Regions from separate parts of the Homo sapiens genome. Here region 2 is linked to region 1. The links are contacts of gene promoters, found by promoter capture Hi-C in blood cells and fetal thymus (Javierre and others, 2016). All regions are on one chromosome and are shown on one strand. The core of a region is centred on a gene start or on the middle of the fragment in contact, and the rest is flanking DNA. Distances in the headings are between cores, read along the strand shown. Region 1 holds the start of ADGRA3 (adhesion G protein-coupled receptor A3). Region 2 has its middle 150 kb from the start of ADGRA3.

What was found. The method cuts DNA at HindIII sites, captures the fragments that hold promoters and counts their contacts. A CHiCAGO score of 5 or more calls a contact.
Region 2: a fragment that was not itself captured here is called in contact with the fragment with the promoter of ADGRA3 in region 1 in 1 of 17 cell types (fetal thymus); the score reaches 5.3 in fetal thymus.

What each region holds. Positions count from the first base shown.
Region 1 is chr4:22,514,342-22,518,501 of GRCh38, forward strand. It overlaps ADGRA3 (adhesion G protein-coupled receptor A3), which reads right to left and starts at 1,725. Exons shown (of 19, transcript NM_145290.4): 1 at 1,187-1,725. The coding sequence starts at 1,443. MIR12115 (microRNA 12115) reads left to right here and starts at 971; the gene lies at 971-1,044. The HindIII fragment of the contact is 8,309 bases long and covers 1-4,160 here.
Region 2 is chr4:22,664,658-22,668,817 of GRCh38, forward strand. No RefSeq gene overlaps it. Among named protein-coding and RNA genes, the nearest start is that of ADGRA3, 150 kb to the left of the region's middle. The HindIII fragment of the contact is 3,952 bases long and covers 46-3,997 here.

The sequences.
Region 1 (4,160 bases), core at 475-2,974:
CCATCTTCATGCCTCCATAAATAGACACATAGACACAATTTTCATGGTTAAACGTTTCCTAATTCAAAAAATGGAAATGAAGGTAAACAAAAGTGTTAGTAATGAAATGTATACCTGGCCTACCTGTGTATACTCCTGCTGAATTTGGGTTACATTTAAAACCATACTTTAAGTGTTTTCATAGATCATGCTGCGGTCCTTGCATTCATGTTTGTATAGTGGCTGCCTTGATTCTTTTTTTAGGAAACCAACCAAAACAACATAGAGGAACCCCGAGCCAAGGGACTCACATTTCAGTTGAACAAAATACCCATGAGAAACACTTAGACTCAAAACTTTCCAAACCAATTCATCCTTCTGAAAACAAACTCGACAGTCACTGGGGCCAACTGTTCAGCTAGAATTGGCAAAACTACGTTTGCAAAACTGAACCGTGAATCCCAGCACAAGTGAGTTACCAAAATTTTTCCTTCCAGGTGGAAACTCAATCCGAAAATCAAAAATCCCTCGAGTTGGAAGGCTCAATAAACCCACGGTTTTCAGTTCCAATGTTCCTGGCTTTTAAATATAAGCCCTCACAGACACGAAAACGGGACTGCAAGGTACATAAACAGATTGATCTGAAATGTTTCCAGCCCTTAATAACAACTCTATCTTAAAAGGTGCTCTTTAACTGTAATAAAACTAAGATAGCAAAAGGCAAAGGAAGCGTCTTGGGGTTTGGGCTCGCACACAGTCCTTGTGTTTTGCAAACTCTACCACGTAAGTGTAACTTAATTTGCAAAGAAGCAGAAGGACTGGCGCTTGCAATCAAGCATTGTGTTTTCTGGAAACCCAAGCCCAGGATGAATGAGCTTTAACTCTGTTGACTGCGTGTTTACTTGCATCCTCACGTGGCACCGCGCAGCCCAAAAGCGCTGCGCCGGGGACAGCGCGGGGAGCGCCTGAGAACCCGAAAACTTTACTTTGCAAACTAGTGGAGCTGGGAGGCAGCTCGGACGCAGATTCCCTTGCCTTTCCCTGAACTGCACCCATGCCAAGCACACGAGGTCTTTCCTAGCACCGCCCCCTGCCTACAGCTCCACACAAAGGCGCGTGGGTGCCGGCTGGACCCTGCTCCAAAGTTGAGCGGAGAGATAAGAAAGAGCCGAGCGGGAGAGGACCCAGCGTCGCGGGAGATACTCACAGGGTGACCGTGCGGTTGGGCAGAGTATCTGGGGGCAGGACCTGCGCGAGTTCCAGGCTGCTGCACACCACCTTGCCCTCGGCGGCGCCCGCCGCCCTGCCAGCCCCTCGGGGCCGCCCATCGTGCTTGCAGCCGGCGGGCAGCGCCGCGGCGCCGCCGCCGCCGCCGCCTCCCAGCAGCGCGAGCAGCGCTAACAGCGAGAGCGGCAGCAACAGCGGCGGCTGCGCGCGGCCCCGCCGGCGTCCGGGTGGCTCCATGCTGCGGGCCGGGGCCTGCGGGGCGAGCGGCGGCGCACTGGCCTAGCGGGCCGCCCCGGAGCCCGGGCGGGCAGGAGCGCGGCGCGGGCCCAGCGGCGACCGGAGCCTTATGGCGGCCGGAGGACGGGCCTTCCCCGGCGCGGACATGCTCCTTTGTCCGCTGCGGCTGCGCTGGGCCTCTAGGGAGCCGGGGGTCACGGCCGCATGGGTCCCAGCGCCGCTCTACCGCCCGGCGCGAGCACCGCCTCCTCCTCCTCCTCTGCCGCCGCCGCCGCCGCCACTGCCTCCTCCCCTGGCCAGGACCCGCGCGCGGCGGCTCCTCCCCGCCCGCCGCCGGCGGCCGCCCCCGCCCCTTCCCCTCCTCTTTCCCGGCTCTCCTGCTCTCCCCGTGTCTGCAGCTGCCCGGGACCTCGGGGAGGAGGCGCGCGCTCCCGGGACCTGCCGAGCCCGACTCCGACCCGGTGCGCGCCCGGGCCTCGGCCTCCGGGCAGGAGTTGTGGGGAGCCCGCGGGAAGGCAGTAACTCGTAGAGAGAACGGAGGAAAGTTCGAGTCCGAACGGAGGAAAGTTCGAGTCCAAACTCCACCCGCGGTGGCCACTCTCCTGCTCGTTTCCCTTCGCCGCCACCGCGCTCGCACCGCGGGCACAGGACAAAGCAGTCTTGTGCGCTCCTGGAGACTGCCCATGTGGCCCAAGGAGCCTGGCCCGGAGGATGGAGTAGGGACGAGAGTAGGGAATTTCCCTGACCAACCCTATGGGAAAAGTACCCAAAACCAAGTGTTTCGGAAGGAATCGCCTTCTCACCTCATTATGGTAGTCTTATTTGTCCCAAATACACTGGAGCCAGTAAACAGGTTCCTCTTCAATACAGTGAACAATCTGAAGCTGTTTCTGGCCTTCAGCAACAACAGCGATGGTCTCTAAAGGATGCATCTGGACCTCACTAGAAAGGCAGCCTTTTGAAAGAAATTCGACAGGCAAAGATACTTGAGATGTTCACCAGTTCGAGCAATAATGAGCAAACCCTCCAAGAAACCCCAACAGAATTGATTACTCTGACTTCCAGCCTCGCCCTAACATTTGCAAGCCCAGGGCTTACCTACCCTATGTTTAAAATTTTACAAGGACTATATCATGCTAATAAAATATATTCTGTGCTCCTGCCTTGAGAAATTACCTTCATAACAACCTGGAAGGTTTGTAAGCAGGATTCTCAGACACCTTGGAGTTTCTCCCTGAAACATGGCAGGTGGGAAAGAGTCAGATCCAAACCTTTGGCCTGTACACCTTCACCGTCTTTGCTTCCTGTGCCCAGCTATCTTCAAGGACAAGAGGGGATTTTTTGTACCTGTGTGTGAACACCGCAGCCCACAAAACCAAGTTCTGTTCACACTTTCTAACAGCCACCCTCTGTCTGCGTCTGGATCTCAGGTGTGCCTATACCAGTTGTTGGGTCCTTCATTGGGAGGACAGTTCTCAGAAGAAGCTAGCTCAGGGCCAAGAAGTGGCTTTGGTAATACCAGTCAGGGAATTCCAGGGTCCTGGGTCTTGGGGACATAGTGGGTACCCAGGCTTTGGGTGCTGGCCTGGAGATTTTTCACCCCATAAGAAGAGTCAGGTTGGTGTCCTCTAAAATGGAGGGCCTAGAACACGGTTTTTCTTGCTTGGGTCTAAGGACACTACTGCCTCTGGCCCCTACAAAATTTATCTTAGGGACCAATTTGCAGGAATCTGTTTATCTGGCTAGAGCTTTCTCAATGGGAAGTAAATAAATGGTCTCCATTTATCATTTATCAGTGTTGTATTAAATTTGAATAGCAGTTCATTTGACCAACCCAACCATGTCCAGTGCTGTCTAATAATACATTCTGTGATTGTATAGCTGTTCTAGTTCTTTGCTGTCTAATATGGTGGCCAACTGTGGCTACATAGTGTGTGGAATGTAGATAGTGTGCAATAAGAATTAAATTTTTCATTTCATTTTAATTAATTTACATTTGAATTTAAATGCCCAGTGGCTACCCTGTTGGTGTTGAACAACATAAGCCCAGACACTATGATGGGAAGAAAAAGTGGGAGATTATCTGCACCATTAAGTGACTTCGGATCTATAAATAACCTTAGCAGGCACACTGGTGCCTCTGTGTTAAGGTGGGTGAAATGGATCACATTTCTCTTGAATTTATCTGAAGAATTATTATTCCCTAACAAAATAATGATCTGTTTTTTGATTAAGATAAAACCTTACTACAGATTGAGCATTGAGCATCCCTAATCCAAAAATCCAAAACCTGAAATGCTCCAAAATCCAAAACTTTTTGAGTTCCGACAAGTAATACCTCAAGTGCAAAATTCCACACCTGGTCACATGTGATGGGTCACCATCAAAATGCAGACACACTATGCAGTTTACTAGCATCCCCAAGGGAAAAAAGCCCCTCCCAGCCCTTTTCTGCTGCTATATATCTTTTCAGGGCATGCCTAAATTCCCCCATGCAAGCGTGCCCCCCAAAGGTAATCAAATGGCATGCATGCAGGCTGGATTTGCCAACGACAAGTTCCCCACAATGCCCACACTGGGCCTTCATCTACGTGCATTACTCACTGTGGGTTTGCTTTTTTGTTGTTTTTTGGTTTTTGTTTTCCTTTTCTTTGCTCTGTGGTGTAAAGCTATTGTTAGTATAAAGAAATATCAGGCCGGGTGCAGTGGCTCACACC
Region 2 (4,160 bases), core at 772-3,271, 150 kb after region 1:
GTACATGAGAGACACCAAAGTTCATTCTTGTTCACTTTTTAAATAAGCTTTGTGAATCTCTCTATTTTTAAAATGGCTTTATTGAGGTATAATTTACATACCATAAAATTCACCCATTATCACTGCACAATTCAGTAACTTTTAGTAAATTTACAAAGTTGTGCAGCCAGCACCGCAATCCCGCCTTAGAAACTTTCTATCAACACAAAGGGTTCCCTCAAAGGCAATTACCACCCCCAATCCCAGCCCCAGGCAAGCATTGATCTGCTTTCTGTCTCTATGATTTGTTTTTCTGAAAATTCCGTATAAATAATCTAGTATTTGCAATCATTTATGTTGGGCTTCTTTCACTAAGTGTAATATTTTTGAGGCCCACCCATGTTGTAGTATGTAAAAAGTAATTCATTTCTTTTGGTGATTGACTACTATCTTATTTTATGGATAGATCACATTTTGTTTATCTTTTCACCAGTTGTTGGCTGTTTGAGAGGCTTCCAGCTTTTTGGCTATTATAAATAATGCTGCCACGATCATTCACATCTTTGGTGGACATCAGTTTTCATTCCTCTCAAGTAAATGCCTAGGATGGAATTGCTACGTTGTGTGGTAAGTTTCTGTTTACGTTTTTAAGAAGTAGCCATATTGATTTCCAAAATTTCAAGGTGTTCTCCCATTAGCAAATCCTGACCAATATTTGGTATTGTCATTCTTTTTGATTATAGCTTTTCTAGTCTCTGTGAAGTAGTATTTCATTGTGATTTTAGTTTGATTTTTCCTGATGATTACTCATGTTGAACATCTTTTCATGAACTTCTCGATCACGTTTGCATTTTTCTTTATGTCTATTCAAATCTTTTGTCCTTTTTTAAAAAACTGGATTGTTTGGCTTCTTACTGAGTTATAAAAAGTCTTTTTTTTTTTTTTTACCATGAGTACTAGTCTTTTCTTAGTTATATATGTTGCAAATATTTTATCCCAGTCAGTGTCTTGCCTTTTCATTATTAAACGATATATTTTGAAGGTAAAAAGATTTTAATTTTGATAAAATTTATCAAAGATACCCAATTTATCATTTTTTCATTTAACACATTTTGCTTTTGGTGTCATATCTGAGAAATATTTGCTTAATCCAAGGTCATGAGGATTACCTTCTATTTTTTTTTCTAATTGTTTAATAGCTTTAGCTCCAATATTTAAGTCTATAATCCATTTTTGAGTTAATTTTTATAGATGGTGTGAGGTCTGAATTAAAGTTTATATTTTCAGTGTATAAAAATCCAGTTGTCTTGACATTTGCCTTTCCTCAAAGATGACAAGTCATTGACATCTTTGACAAAAATCAATTGACTATAAATGTGAGGGTTGAAGTCTTTCTATGTTACATTTACCCTCCTTTTTCTGGTCTTAAGGACGCAGGGGATGATAGAATGTCTCAAAATTACATGTATGCTCATCCCACATTATACATAGTAGTGTCAGAATAACAAGACTAATATTACCAGTAAAGGCATAGTGGCTCATACCTTTAATCCTGGCACTTTGGGAGGCCAAGGTGGGAGGATCACTTGAACCCAGGAGTTCTGGACCCACATGGGCAACATGGTGAAACCCCATATCTACAAAAAATATAAAAATTAGCTGGGCATGGTGGCTAATTTTATGTTGTTCTTTTATGGTTCTCCCAGCTACTTGGGAGGCGAAGGTGGGAGGATCACTTGAGCCCAGGAAGCAGAGGCTACAGTGAGTTGAGATCACACCACTGCACTATAGCCTTGGTGACAGTGAGATCCTATCTCAATAATTGTAATACCAGCACCAATATAACTTTCCATTTTAAAGGAGAAAAAGGATTCTCCTTTTCTTACCCATCACAAGATTCAAGACTGACATTCCTCTAACGAGACAGATTAACAAGAGAAAAACATAACAAATTAATTTCATCAACATTTTATATGGCACAAGAGCCTTCATAAATGATCTAAAGACCCAGGGAAAACTAAATATTGTTATGGATCTGTGCAAAAGTGTGATTGGAGGACAAAAGGGTATGATCTAATGGATATAAACTAGGGGGAACTTAGCAAGGCCTGTTTGTTCAGATTGTTCTTTGCCTCCAGGTATAAGGAAGAATCCCTCTGGAATGAGGGTCATATCAGGTCACACCACATGCTTTGAGGGGAAGTAAGCCAGAGAATTCTTTTTATGACCTCAGGAGAGAAAGGTAGGAGAAATCAGAGAAAGAGAAGATCACAAAGACCTTTCTGCTTCTGCAATTTTCTCAATTTCCTTCAACTTAAAATACTCAGTATTCCAAGATGTCATATTTTGGGGGTAGCATTTCCATCACCCCATCACCATTTATTTTTAAAAGTGATCCACTGAAATGCCGACTGGAAGCTCTGGGTAAGAGCCTCTCAGGTTGGGGCTCCACTCCGGTGTGATGTGGCTGGGCGGTCATTGAGGAACCCTCAAATGCCATTATCCCTTGATTTTTCTTCTGTTTTCAGTTCCCCCATAAAGAGATTCTCTTATCTGCAGCCAGTAGACAGTTCTGGAAAGCAGGAAAAGAAAGAGGCTGCACCATAAATACATTTCCATATAGTCACCCTTTTCATGCTGTAACTTCTTCTTAATTAAACCTCATGTCTCTGAGTCCTGTGTCTCTGACATTTCTTCAGAGAATAAGCAGCCATTCTTTGGTTGCAGAAAAAAAAGGATAATTCCTCTACTGCTTAATAGGGTCAAATAAGAGGTGTGATGGAGCTGGCTTGAGCCAGCTCTCTGGAAGACATGTGTTCATGTCTTCCCAGTTCTGTGTTGAGTAACATTATATTGATAGCTTGAAATTGGCCATGATGGGAATATTTACGTCATGAAAACTGGCGAACAGGGCTTTTTATTGGGGGTGGGGTGGAGTAGGGAGCTGGTTACCAGCACAGCACTGGATCTTATCTTGCTGCTTATAAGACATATTTTTGGTAAATCCTTCATTGCTCAACCCTACCAACAATATCATTTTTAGATTTTGGAATTCCAAGGGCTAAGTCAGCTTGCCAGCTTGCTTCTACGCTGTCTCCTACTGGTAGCTTTGGTTTTGTTTTTCTCTGTTTTGCTAAATCTGTTAATACTTGTCCAATTGCTTTCCAGTTTCTCACACTTTGTTATCTCTTCTCATTCTGTTTGTCAATTTATCCTTACATTGTTATTTTAAGATTATTAGAAAGAAGGCTTGAACACAAAGTAAAGAGTATTCATTTAACCATATTTAATTTTAAGTAGCCTTTAGCTTTAAAAAATTTTCTTGGACTTTATACACATGAAAATACATAAAGATGCTATGCCCCATCTTTCTGCTCCCTCAGCTCTACTCTACAGATATTAAAAATGGTATAAAATAGCCATTTTCTGTCTTACAGAAGAACATTGTGAAGAATTATGTAATAAAAGGGGGTTCTCTTGTTTAAAAGAACAAAACATAACACGGTGACTGATAGGATGTACTTCAAGATGTTAAATGTTAATTACCTCTGGGAGTGTGATTCCTATTTTCTTATTTTTGTTTCTTTAATCTTTCTAACACATCTACAATAATTCTTCATTATTTTAGAAACAAAAAAGTAAAAGTTATTTTAAATGGAATACAATTTACATACAAACAAACCCAAAAGTATTATGATAGAATTATTTTGCAATTCTTGGGAGTTTACTGAGTTGAGAAAAGGAGATGTAACATTAGAACATAACCTAATTCTAATGTCTAATTCCAGGGCATGTTGTGTTTTTTGGCATATCCCTGCATTCCTCAAACATATGTACACTTTGGGGTTTCTAAAAGTAGAATATTATTACATAGATCTTGGTGGGAAGTGGAAAGTTGCAAACTGTTGTCACTTTCAGTTTCACATTTCTTCCTGTAAATTGAGAAAGACATTGTTCTGTCTCACCAACTGAGATATTCTATAAATGTTCAGCACACACATGTGTACAAGAACATGAAAGCTTTCATTTGTCTTATAAAATCCTTGGGTGGCAATACCACTATTTTTTTTAATCTATAGAAGTGTGGGCTTTTGAAATTTGAGACCTTGCTTCTTACCCTGAAGGAAAATTAGGAAGAAAAAAAAATTAAAAGGACCCTCTACTTTCCTGGTAATTTCAAT